Linked DNA regions of Homo sapiens: region 1 is linked to region 2. The links are contacts of gene promoters, found by promoter capture Hi-C in human tissues and cell types (Jung and others, 2019). All regions are on one chromosome and are shown on one strand. The core of a region is centred on a gene start or on the middle of the fragment in contact, and the rest is flanking DNA. Distances in the headings are between cores, read along the strand shown.

Evidence for each region. Contacts are between HindIII fragments. The study calls those that stand out against the background at their distance.
Region 1: a contact is called between a fragment that was not itself captured here and the fragment with the promoter of CORO2B in region 2, in 1 of the 25 tissues and cell types used here (dorsolateral prefrontal cortex).

What each region holds. Positions count from the first base shown.
Region 1 is chr15:68,804,022-68,810,762 of GRCh38, forward strand. The region is part of intron 1 of ANP32A (acidic nuclear phosphoprotein 32 family member A); the gene reads right to left. ANP32A-IT1 (ANP32A intronic transcript 1) reads right to left here and starts at 3,080. Exons shown (of 1, transcript NR_026808.1): 1 at 1-3,080. The HindIII fragment of the contact is 4,122 bases long and covers 1-3,790 here.
Region 2 is chr15:68,577,480-68,583,868 of GRCh38, forward strand. It overlaps CORO2B (coronin 2B), which reads left to right and starts at 1,514. Exons shown (of 12, transcript NM_006091.5): 1 at 1,514-1,798. The coding sequence starts at 1,784. RefSeq lists an enhancer at 1,702-2,569. The HindIII fragment of the contact is 24,079 bases long and covers 1-6,389 here.

The sequences.
Region 1 (6,741 bases), core at 480-2,979, 230 kb after region 2:
GATCTCCTGACTTCATGATCCACCCACCTCGGCCTCCCAAAGTCCTGGGATTACAGGCATGAGCCACTGCGCCCGGCCCACAATAAAACATTTTTAAAAATCAGAACTTTTGGCATAATCTATTTCGCTTTCCCAGGAAAAGAAATGTAGCAGATTTTATAACAGAGAAGAGAAAGTAAAGTCAAGTCAAGAGTCTAAGGTATTTCCATATTATCATCAAAGTTGCCGGGAGAAGGTTGGGGGTCAAAGCTAAGATTCCAGGTTGGATGACCTGGTTTTGTATCCAAGCACAGCTCCTCAGTACTACCTGACCTTAGGTTGGTTACTTAACCTTTCTGAGCCTTGGTTCCCTCATTGGCAGAGTGAGCATAATTCCATTCATCCAGCAGCATTTCTGTATAGATTAAAGAATAAATATGGTGCCTGGCACATTGGCATGAACAAACAGTTAAAAACAAACAAAACACATTTTTAAAAAGATATTACTTTTTCTATTTAGTACAAAAATGAAAATCTAGTGTCTTCCCTTGTTTTCTGAGTCTCGCTCTGTGGCCAGGCTGGAGTGTAGTGGCACAATCTCGGTTCACTGCAACCTCTGATTCTCCTGCCTCAGCCTCCTGAGTAGCTGGGATTACAGGCGCCCACCACCACGCCCAATTAATTTTTGTATTTTTGTAGAGATGGGGTTTCACCATGTTGGCCAGGATGGTCTCGATCTCCTGGCCTCGTGATCCACCTGCCTCGACCTCCCAACGTGCTGAGATTGTAGGCGTGAGCCGCTGCACGCGGCTGTGTCTGCCTTTGAGAAGCTTCAAGAAAAACAGTGGGCATGAAATTATCCAGCCCTCATAATACTGGGAAACTATTTTCCTAACAGGCTAATTAATAAAGTCTTACTTCAGCCAGAAGCTCCTTTCAAATTGATGTAGGATTCCTGCTTTTAGATGAAATTATTGGCCAATTATAGCTCAGTCTGGTCCTTGGGAGAGGTGGGGTCTGCTGCTGTATTTGTGACCTCTGATTTAACTGTGGGCTTCTCTCTCCCTAAAATAAACCCTGGGGGCCCTGTGAGTCCTGCCTCACCATCTCTGGTCAGAGGCATCAGTAGGGTCTCTCCAGCCCCCATTCAAAAGCATCTAACCCCCTAAACCAGGTCCAGATGGAATCCAGAAAGTACAAATGGGGGTCCTCCAGGAAACACTGCTATTTCAGAAACACCAATGGAAATTCCACTCTGACAGTGACGGCAGCTGGTGGTACAAAATTGGGCGGTGTCTCCGCCTAGGCAGGAAAAACACCAGCTCCAGGCAGTCAGCCGTTGCCTTACCTGGAGGGCTGATCAACCGTCACAAATGTGTTTAAAATTTCTACCCCCTCCCCACACCCAGCCATGAGAAAATAAATGTATTATTGTTAATAAATGCAATTTGGAAGTCTAAATCTTTCAAAGGGCTGAGTCTTGAAGATAATAAAACACATTCTGGGATGAAAAGGCAGAGGGCTGGAGCCCAAGGCTGGTGTGAGCAGAGCAGTGGCCGGCTATTATACTTGTCCTTCTTGGGTTTAATTTCATCTTTCCCATGAATCATCCCATGAATTCACACCTTAAGCTCACTGGGCCTTAGCTTGTTTATTGGGAAGAGGACTTCTAGAGGTACTTCTAGATCAGATATCCTAAGTTCCAGCTCATGGGGTCAGAAGTCCAGTGTAAGGCACTTGAGTGCTCAAATGCCACCTCCTCAGAGAGGCCTTCCTGGACCACCCATCTCCTTTAACGCAGCCTTATGGGTCTTCATGGCACTCATCACACCAGCAGCCATGCCTTTGCTTGAAGGCTTACTACTGACTGTCTCCCCCAGCGGAACAGAAGCCCCACAAGAGCAGCATAGGTGATGTGTCTGTCTAGTTCCTAGAACAGAACCCAGTACAGAGTCGGCATTCATCAATGTGTGTGGAATGAATGAATGAATGATTAGCCAAGCCAAGGGTCAACCAGAAAGACAGGGATTCCAATCTTACACCTTCATTTGCTATCTGGGCACCTCTGGGTAAGCCACATAACCCCTCCACAGTATTGTGTATTTGCAGAAACCACCCCCATAACTCTGGTTAACATCAGACAGTAGTGGCCAAGTGCTGCTCACCATCAGGGACATTTGTGGCAGTAATAAGCCTCCTGGGGCTAATAAGCCATTGGTCGATACAAGTCTGGTTTCTGGTACAGTGGGTGCCTCTCAGACCAAGATGCACATCTTGCTGGAGTCTATGGCCACTGGTCAATCTCAGAGGCACATTCTCACTCCCATATCCAACCCTGCCACTCCTGATGATGAACACCGGCCGCTGAAACTGAAGGAAGACTCCTGAGTGCCTACACATGCCAACTGCCTGCCCTGAATGAAGTACCCTTCTGGCTTTAAGAGGGCAGTCAGCGTTCCATTTCCGCTCCCACTACTCCCACCCCAAAGAGCAACCCTGGAGGGCTCTCCTCTAGAAGCCTTCCCAGACTCACAGACCACACCTAAATGCAAAGACACACCAGTACTTTTAACCAAGACACAGAAAGGCATGTCTGCAACAGAGCCATAAACTAGACAAGGGCTAAAAAGAACAGAACTGCTCATTATGGCTTCAGGCCAACCTCTGCAGATAGGCTTCATCAGGCCTACCAGAGACAGCTGAAAGCTTCACAAAGTACAGGCCTGCCCAGTCTTCAGAGACCACAACCAGGGTACACCCAAATCTTCATGGGGAAAGGAAGACGTGCAGAAGTGGAAGGAACGCCTGGGTGGCTGTGAAGGCCAGTTTCTGACCCTCCATATGGAACAGCCCCCTGTGCCAGAACAGACAGGCTACTCCCACTGGCAGCCAGGCAAGAGGCTGGAGAACCACATCTGCCATCGTCACAGAGCTCTTCTATGTCCCCAGCTGCAGGAGAGTCACACTGGGCTCTGTACACCGTCAATGCTGCCCTCTGGCAGGGGGTATGGACATATAAAGGAGCACTGACCAGACAGAGAGAAAGCCACAGATGCACACCTAAGTGAGTGCTATTGGACTTGGCTGAGAGGCGAACGCTGCTGCGTGCCCTGGAAGTCCCCAGGACTTTTACCTTTATGTCACCTAGGTGGACACAGTTTGCTCCCTTTCTTCCAGTGAGTTGAGGAGGGCTTCCCAGAAAAGGGGACCTCTCAGGAGCTGTATGAATGAAAGATAAAGGACTGGGAGAGGCTGGCCCAGACTTCTGCAGCCAGAGGGGAGTTTAAAGGCAAGAAGGCTAGGGTCACGGAGCAACTGCTATGGGAAAGGTGAGCCAGCGCGACAGCCCCCACCCCAGAAGAGGCCCGGGGCAAGGGGATGCCTGCAGCTTGGCTGGTATTCCTCCCGCCCCACCTCCACAGAAAACGGGGGGGGGGGAGTCTCTCCTTTGCCCAGAGCCTCCCTGCCCCTCCCCTCCGCTTCACAGCTCCAGGCGAGGCCTCCTCCTGGGGCAGGCCGAGACAGCTCTTCTCAGACTTGCTCCCACCCCAGCAAGCACCTTCTGGAGAGGGGCTGACTCCACCCCACCCCCACCGCTGACCAAACAGCTCATTCAAGCCCTGACGGGTAGAATCTAACCTTCAGGGTCCGTCTACAACCCATACCTGGCATAAACGATATTTCTTTCCGTGCTAACAACAAGCTCTGGGAAGCAGGTTATTCACCGTTTCACAGATGTGGCAACTGAGGCTCAGTGAGGTGACCTGCCAACATCCTCAGGCTCAGCAGTTCTCAAGCACTACTGCCCACTGTACCTGACTGCCTGGGTCTGCGCCTGGGCCCCCGCCCTTTTACAAAAGGTCCACGGCCTCTCAAGAGCTGGACATGAAGGATGGGCCAAGTCCAGTCTTGATCGGTAATGCCCACTTGACACTCCCAGGAGCAGCATCCTGAGATACACGTAAATGAAAAATTCCAAGTGTGATGAGCAGAACGTGGTTGTGTGAACAATCCCATGGTGGTGGGGATGTGGGGGGCAGGTCAAGGAGCGGATCCCTGAACCCCAGCAGATTAAATCCTGCATCCTTCTTTCCTATTTCCTGGTTTCTCTGCTCCATTTTCCTCTAGTTTCCACTTAGTTACTTCTTCCTACCTGCTGTGAAGCTCTGCACCCTGCTCCATGGGGTGGTTCCCAACTGTGCTTTAGAGTCCCCTTTAGAGCTTTCTAAAAATACACGGACTGGGGCACCACCCTCAGAGACTGATTCAGTTCAGGCAGAGCCTGGGTATTGCTTCAGATGCTCCCCTGGCAGTTCTGATCCACAGCTGGGGTTGAAATCGGCTTTACTAACCACACACCTTCTTCCCTGCAGTGTATGTGCTATGCTCCATCACTCCAGCTCCACCACAGGAGCCAGGCACCACCATCCACTATAACCACTCTCTTCTCTCCTACCCAGCCCAGGATGCAAGGACTGGATTCAAGAAATTAAATTTGCTACAAAAATACTTACATAGCATTTATACAACTCCTTGTCTCATTCCCGATGCTGGGCACACAGGCCATATCAGTGGACTCCCCTCACCCGTCCATTCAGTTACACCACTTAGGCCTGCCCATGAAGCCAATGGCTAAGGTGACAGTTGGTTACATAAATTGAAGATGAGTCCCTCCTCCAGATGCATGGTCCCTGAAGAAATCTGAAAGTAATTCCTCTAAATTGAGAATGACAGGCCCTTGCCTCCACCCTATCACCCCCTGCACACGCACATGCATACACACGTAGTTCTCACGAATTCTACAGGAGGCAGCAGAATCCAGAAACCCAGCACTGGGCACTGCTGGCTGCAGAGTTCCAGCACAACTTTGCTGAAATCTCTCAGCAAACACACTCTGCGGGCCTCTCTCTTTCAAGCTTCACTGTGCACCTCTGTCTCTGCCCTTCCAGCCCACACATCCTGCCTCTTACTTGTTCCCCACTCCAAGATAACTAGGAGAAAGCCACCTTCCCACCCACCCTGAGTCTATGGCTGATGGAATCCTTATCGTAGCTACTTCCTGGCCTCTCAGGACATGGGCAGAGAGAACCCGGGGGTTTACCTCTGTGGGACCCCAGGGGTGACTGGAGGGGACTTTGGTGGATCTGTCCACACAGCCTAAACAAAGAGCACCAAGCTGACACACGGCAGTGGAGCCTTGATTCACCAAGGATCTCGGGCAAGCTAGCTTATTGTATTAAAGGGAGACTGTGAATGTCCCCTACCCCTACTCATCACACACTAGAGCTGGAGAGATCTTAACAAGCAGTGTCTAGGAAGGTATGAGCGTTTCTTTTACAGAGTGAACTTTAGTAACTGAATTTAAAATAAAACGAGCAATTAATTAGAACAGTAGTCTCTTATGTGGACTGCCCAAGCCAATCCACTGGGATGCAAGAATTTCAGGACTTTTTAGATGTTTAAATGTATCCTTTTTAATTTATATTTTTGGCGTTACATTTTATAATGTCCATATTTATAGGTAGTGTATGTGAATAATCCATAACTGCAAGGTAGACATACTGGGGCTCAGGTTCAAATTGTTTACTGATAAGGGATGTGATAATGAGAAAAACATGATGACCAGCGACCTAAGAAGTGTGCATCACCCACCCAGAGCAACTCCATCAGAAAGTCACACCAGCGGGCGTGGGGGTGCGGGTGTGAAGGTGTGCGCTTCGTTTCAGTGGCTTCGTGCTTGATGTACCAACCGGTAGGTGATGAAAGTGACAAGAAGGTATAAGTACCACAGATCCTTCACTCCATCAGTACTTCTAGAATGCTTACCATGTGCCAGGCACAGTGTGGAGCTCTGAAGACCACAATGATGAGCAAAAGCAAGTCCCTCAAATCGTGCAGTGCACCCATTAGGCAAGGGGACAGAGATGCTAATTAAACACTCATAATCTGGAATATGTAGTTACAAACTGAAGCACTCTGAGGGAAAAGTTCTGTAAGAGTTTTCTGGCAAAAGAACTAGATCTAAACCTGACGGAGGAGGCTGGAGATGGTAAAGATGACTAGATGCTAACTGGATACAGTGGCAATCTCAGTGTGGCACAGGTTTGCAGGAATGAGAGGCAGCCAGGGAGGCCCAGAGAGAGTGGGGCAAGGGAACAGATGACGGGAAGTGGCCAGACCATGCAGCACCTTGTTGGTCTTATTAAAGATTTGGGACTTTATCCTAGGAACAATGGTGAATTTTAAGTATGGGGTGACATTACATGTGTGTTTTGATAAGATCATTCTAGTTGAAGGTCACAGCATGGCTTCAAGAAGACTAGACTATGATACAGGGAGATCAGTGGCAAGCAACAGAGCATGTTTTAAACAGACAAGACTTGTGATGATGATGGATGGAAAGAGGATCATGAGTGTGTGTGTGTGGGCAGTGGTGGGCAAGGGACAGAGGACATGGGTTCCCTTTGGACTTAAGAGTAGGGCACTTTTGGAGCACCCAGGTGGAGACATCAGGTGGGTCTCAAGCTTACTCAAGCAGTAAACTTCAAACCTCAGAGAGCAGCACGCAGTACCTGCAGCTGTCAGTGAGGAAGGACAAATTTCCAACTGGAGAGAATACAGGATAAGAATGCCCAGCGCCCAAGTTTGACTAAGTCAATACTTCATGGCTAAACAGGAGAGCAACAGGACACCAGAAACTGAGCAGTGACTAGAGCCGTAGAAGATATACCAGAGAAAGGGAGAGCATCTATCATAAAGTCA
Region 2 (6,389 bases), core at 264-2,763:
TTGGGAGGCCGAGGCGGGTGGATCACGAGGTCAGGAGTTCGAGACCAGCCTGGCCAATACGGTGAAACCCCGTCTCTAATAAAAATAAAAAATTAGCCGGGCGTGGTAGCGCGTTCCTGTAGTCCCAGATCCTCGGGGGGCTGAGGCAGAAGAATCGCTTGAATCCAGGAGGCGGAGGTTGCAGTGAGCCGAGATCGCGCCACTGCACTCCAGCCTGGGCGACAGAGTGAGACTACTCCGGTCTCAAAAAAAAAAAAAAAAAAAAAATTGCACAATGACCCACAAAGCACTTCCTGGAGGCTGGTTACTCTATTATTATTGCTCCAATCTAGACACTGGTCTCCCGGAAGGCAGGCATCCCATCTCCTCTCTGTTCCCCCAGCACTTTCCACAGAGCAGGTGCTCATATATGACGTTGCCTTCGCTGTCCAGGTGAATTGCACCGGTAATTACCGTGGAGCAGGAAGCCAGCACTTCCGGGCTTGCCAGGCTGTCCTGCTTGGAGAACCCCTCTGCTTCCACCTCTGCTAACTCCTCCCCTCCACCCTCTCCGCGGTTCTGTATCTGCGGAAACCGGTTCTGCTCAGGTGCTTGGGAGGGAGACTCCTTTCTCAAGACTTGCGAGGTCACCTTCAGGTGACTGTCCCTCAAATCTCCGCAGCAGCTCCAGGACACACTGTGCCCCGAGTCAGGATTGGATCAACACACAGGACGCACCTGTGTTATCACTCCACCAGTAGAGCGGCACTCAGTGGTAGTGTAGACAGTCCTAGGGCAGGGCAGCTTCTATAACAAGAGGTTCCTTAGGGAGCTAGCGGCCGAGTGGAAAGAGCGGGAGGAACGGCTCGGGCAGGCAGGTCCTGTGCTGTGGTCTAAGTCACTTCCCACGTCCGTCCCACTCTGATCGTCAGTTTCCTCCTCTGCAAAACTCACTAAGGCGGCCTTCGGGCAAGTCATCGCGGCGGGAATTAGATTCGAAAGAGTGCTTACACAAATCCGTCTGGCCACCCTGTGCCCCGGGCCAGCGCGAGGTGGGGGTGCGGGCAGGGCTCCCGGGCTTGCGGCTGCCACGCCCCTCCCAGCCCGCCGCGCCACACTCACGGCCCACGGGCCGACTTTGCGAGCCTCCAGGGGGCGAACCCGACCGCCTTCTTTGCCCGCGCAGCGCCTCGGCCGTCCAGCCTGTGACTTCACCAGCGTCCCCGGGCCAGCGGGACACCCGAGAGCCCGGGGCGCCGCCCGTTCTCCCAGCCGGCAGGTGCCGGGAGCCAGCCTCGCCCAGCCGCGTGGCGTCCGCAGGCCCGAAGGGGTTAAGGCCGCGGACCCGGGCGCCCGTCCGGACTCCGGGAGCAGCGGTGCCCGGCGGCCGGCGATCGAGCGGGAGGCTCGGGGCACGGCCGCTGGCGGGCTGCGCTTCCTCCTCCTCCTCCCTCCGCCTCCTCCTTTGTAGCGAGTTCCCGGCCCCTCTTCCTCCCCCCGCCCCCCAGCCCGGGCCCTCTCCCTCTCTCCCTTTCTTCCTGCCTCGCCTTCCTGCGGCGAAGGAGGCTCATCTATTATAAATGCACATTCGGGGCTGACATCAGCGACGAGCGGCGGGCGAGCGCCGACGAGCGGTCCCTGCGCGCTGCCCGCCCGGAGCGCAGCCCCCAGGCTCGGCCGAGCCGCCGGCGGGGCGCGGGGAGCGAGCCGGGAGCTGCCGGACCCCCTTCCGCCGCCGCCCCGGGCCGCCGCCGCCGCCCCCGCACGCCGCGCCCGCGCCCCCGCTCCGCCGCGGAGTTTCTGCATGACTGTCACAAAGGTAAGCGCCGCTCGCCCGCCGCGCCCGGGACCCGCCGGCGCCTGCATCCCCCGGGCTAGGCTGCGGGGGGCGCGGGGGTGTGGGTGTGGGGAGGGGGCGCCGGTGCCGGGAAGGTGCGGCGCGCGCCTCTCTTGCTGCCGGATCCGCTCGAGTCACTCCGGCCCCCAAGGACTGCGGAGGCCAGGGGGAGGATGCCGCTCTGGCAGCCCCGGCGGTTTGGCCAACATCCCTCCGCGCCCGGCCCAACCCCGGGACTGCATTTTTAACCCTTGTTTGGGATGCTGCATTTTTAACCCCTGGAGAGCTGGGCTGGGCGGCTAGCGGTGTCCCTCCAGGGAGTGCGCGGCGGGAAGCGTCGCTGGCAGGGGCTGGTGCTGAGCAGTGGGTGTGGGGATGGGCCTGCCGCCCCGAGGAGGCCAGCGGAGGGGAAACCCCACCCCACCTGCCAGCCTCTGCCGCCCATGCCGGGAGCGCTGGCTCCACTCCAAAGCCACTCTGTGCAGAAGGCGCTGCCCAGTCCCGGGAGCCGCTACCAGAGACAGGGCAGGTCCAGGTGGTTGGCTTGAAGATGTGGGGAGGGAATGTGACAGGGGAAGCAAAGGTGGGCATCTTGGCAGCCCCCATATTGGAGGATGATTGTTGGGCCTTGTCATAGGGGCCCACGTTTATTGGAGAGACTTCAGGGGCTTCCTAGTTGTAGGGAGGAAAGAGTTAAGAGGAAAGATGATGGGGCAGTGGAAAGTGCCAGGGTCAAGGGACCAGGGAGACCTGAGTTCAATCCCAGCTCTATCCCAGATCCCCTGGATGACCTTGGTCGGGGAGGGGTCCACTTTGGGCCTCAGTTTCTTCTTGTGTGCTGTGAGGGTGATAATATGGGTCCTGGGTTGTGACAGGCTGTTAAAGAACCAATAACATCAAGGGTGTGAACCCACACTCTTCAGAGAGATCTGTCTGGGTACTGAGCTCACAGTCTGGCGGTGGCCTCGGGCTTGGCCGTCCATTCAAGGGCCAGACTCCACCCTTTCCAGCTGCCCAGCTGGGTCCCAGAATTGGGGAGCTGGAGGCCAAAGTGGGACCGGCAGCCCAGAGTGGGGTCAGATGGAGGGTCAGAGCAGTGGGGCCAGATGGAGGGTTGGGGTGCAAGTGATGGAGGTGGGGTGGTTTTGGCTCCTTCTGGTAAGCCAGGGCCTACCCTTGCCCTCCTGAGGTCTGCCCCAAGACTGAATGTTTGTGCGGATTCTTGGGCCCAACTCCAAACTTTGCCATTGGCCCTGGTTCTGGGACTTGGGAGCATTGTGAGAAGATGAACTTGAGGGTGCAGGGGCTTCCTCAGCTCTGGCTACTTCTGGCAGGGCTGTTGTGGCCCACCTGGGGTAAGATGCTTAGGGTTTTGAAATGATGCAAATGCTATTCAGCTGGGAGGGATATTAAGGTTATTAATGTCAAAGATGCAAGCAGGCTGGGACAGAGGAGTAATGGATGGGCCCGGCTAGAGAGAGAAAGGGTGTGAGGTTTTAATAATAGCGCTGAGGATTAACTCAGCGCCTCCCCTGTGTCTCTTTTTGTGCGCGAGCTCATGCAGCCTTCCTTCCCTGGAGGCCTGCAAGGAAGGTGTGTTCAGTTCTCTTTAACAGTGGAAGGAACTGAGGCTCAGAGAGGTGAAATGACTTGCCTGAGGTCACACAGCATGTATGTGGCAGAGCTGGGGTTTGCCCTCAAGTCTGTCTCAATCTATGGCCAGTGATCTTTGCACTGCTCTGCATCGTTGGGCATCCTGGCTACTGGGGGACTTCCATGGTAGAGGAGCACTGCTTGGAGACCTGAACCTTGAAGCAGGGATGGGACAGGGAGTCCATGAAAGTGGGTGCTTACCTGTTAAGCCCACTGGCAGGCCTAGCTTCTTGGTATCCAGTAACTATTCAACACTCCTCCACCCCCATACCCAGCCCCCAACAAACCCTCCATGTCGCTCACCTCCTGCTCTAACCAATGTGGCTTTGGCTTAAGCAAGCTCAGGGGATTAAATAAAATCCCCACCTTAACCCTATCTTCTCTCCCCTTGCTGGCCCTTCACAGACCAGCGTGTTCTTGTGGGGAACAGAGAGCAAGAGGGATGCAGGAAAGGCACTGGGGACTGCTTTGCTGTCTACAAGCCCGCTGGTAGTAGCTCTTCCAGTACCATAGGGAAAGCCACCATGCTCTGGAAGTCTGAAGGCCTGGCCCCTAGTCCTAAATTAGCCACCAACAGGCTGTGTGACCTTGGACCAGTCACTTCCATCCTTGGGCCTCTGTTTTTCTATTTGTCAAATGTAAGACTTGGTTCCAATGATCTCTAGGGCCTCTTCTGCTGAGCCTTGGTGCAGCTTCAGTTCTGGCAAGAAAGTCACCTCTGATGGAGATTGGGAGACTCTTTGTTCTCTGAGGGGTGGTCTGTTTACAAGACAGATATGAAGGAGAACCCTAAAGAGGGTGTGAGAGGTAGGATCGCTGCTGACACACTGGGAGCGGTAGGTAGGGGAGGAAATGGGTTCGAGAGTGAGCTCCCAGGGCAGTGTCTAGGGCTCTAGCCTTCTCTGCTGCTGCTTCTCCAGGCAGAGGGTCATGGCTGGGTCCCAACTTCCTGCCCCTTGGACGAATGCCTTAGTCCTTGTATCAGGTCCCCTCAGGGCAGAGTCCTCTGGGCCAGGGTTAGGTATGGACTGCAGGAGCTCTGAGCTCAGAGAGGCCTGGCAAGTGGAGAAGAGGAAAGCAGATGGCAAGTTGCTAGATCCTCAGTAGCACTTCTGTAGAGGAGGTGAGCCTGTTTTCCATTTTCCGCCTCTCTTTCATACATCCCCTTGCCCCCTTAACCATGAGGCACAGCTGCTAAAGCTGCCGGCAAACCCTGTGGTTTCTGAAGGACTCCTGCCCTAACTAGCCTTAGGAACACAGAGCCCCGGAGAACTTCTAGCCCTGTGGCATTTCTCCTGGCTATGTTTTAAACTTTATTTGATTGTATGTAATTTAGTAAGTTACCTTACTTTCTTTATAGGATGAGAAAGAGAAGAAAGCCAGAAAAAGGGAAGAAAGAGTGGAGGGAAGGAAGGCTCTGATGCAGGGCCCTGAGCATGCACAGGAGGTCAAGGTGCTGCCTCCTCTCAGTCCAACGTGCTTCCTAGGGCAGCTCGGGGCGAGGGAGCCAAGGCTGCTTTCCCTGAGACGAGTAGCTCCAGCTGATTTTATTCTTCAGGTTCTTCTGACTGCTTTGTATAATTTTCTTGTTCTGTTCCATCTCAGTCATGTACCAGACTAGCAGTGCTTCTCCAGTTCTAAATATCTGTTTCTACATTGCTATCAACTGGAAAAGCAGAGGACAAGGTACATTAATAGAGTCGTGTGTAAAGTACAAGTTAATGGGCTATAAGAAAACCTGTGAGCTAAAGTCTAGGCCCTTGCAACCCGCTTTGTACTGCTCAGAGGCCCTTTAGGGTGATTTCCTGGCTGCTGGCTGTGATGTGACCCAGAGGTGGGTCTTCCAGGTAAGGGAGGAGGTGGCTTATAGTGACCAGGCTCCCCTATTTTGAGGTGTGCTGTGTTAAGTTAGACGCTAGTGAGCTGAATGCTTTTTACCTTCCTGAGCCTGGCTCAGGGGGGTCAGCGGTCCAGGAGCAAAGTACCCTGAGCAGCACAATTGCCTGCTGCACCTTAGAAGGCCTTAGGAGAGGGAGTGTGGGAAAAGAGAAGACCTTTCATGCCAACATGCTCCTCCCTGCTAAGCAGATAGATTGTAGGTCCGTGGGCAGCACGATCAACTGTGCCCTGGCCCCTCTTTCTGCAGGCAGCCTTCCCTCTCCTGCCTCAGCTCCAGCAGGGCACAGCCTGCTGATAAGAGCCAGTGGCTCCTGCTGAATGTGAAAGGACTGAGGATGATGTTATCCTGCCCAGGTAATAGCAGGCCTGCATTTTCCAAAGATCATGTGTCTCTAGGGCCCCTACAGAGTCACCCATAGGAGAATAAAATTTTGGAGCGGGCAAATCACCCAACCCTTTCCCTTGAGAAATGAGGGAACTGAGACGCTGGGAGCAGAAGTTGTAACTTGCCCAAAGTCATTCAGTAAGTTTGAGGCTGGAGGGGCTGGCACCTCGGTCCTGACTCATGGTCAGTGCTCTTTCCACCCGGCTGCCCTGGCAAGGGGTCCTGGGGCATTCTGAGCAGGCACAAATGTTTTGGCCCCACTCCACTTACCCCACTGCATCGCCCCTTCCTGTCCTGCTGGTGCCTGGATTTCCCTCTGTGGGACACCATCTGCCCTAGATGGAAGAAGCATTGCGGGAGTGGGAGGAGGGACAGGATGTGGGGCAGGGGAGCAAAGTCCATAGGAGCCTTGCTATACCTACAGTCAGATGGCGAGGGGGATTATGAGGCCCCTCTGCCTCCAGTTCCCTGACGCAGAATCTAGGTACCCAGGAGATACCTGAACCTCCAGACATTCTACATCCCAGCACCTCGTTCCTGTCTGGGTCTCCCTGGGAGAGGAAGTAAGAGAGCCAGCACCTCAGGAAGCCTTGGTGAAGAGGAAGCGGGGGTACCAGCACAGACCCAGCTCCCGGG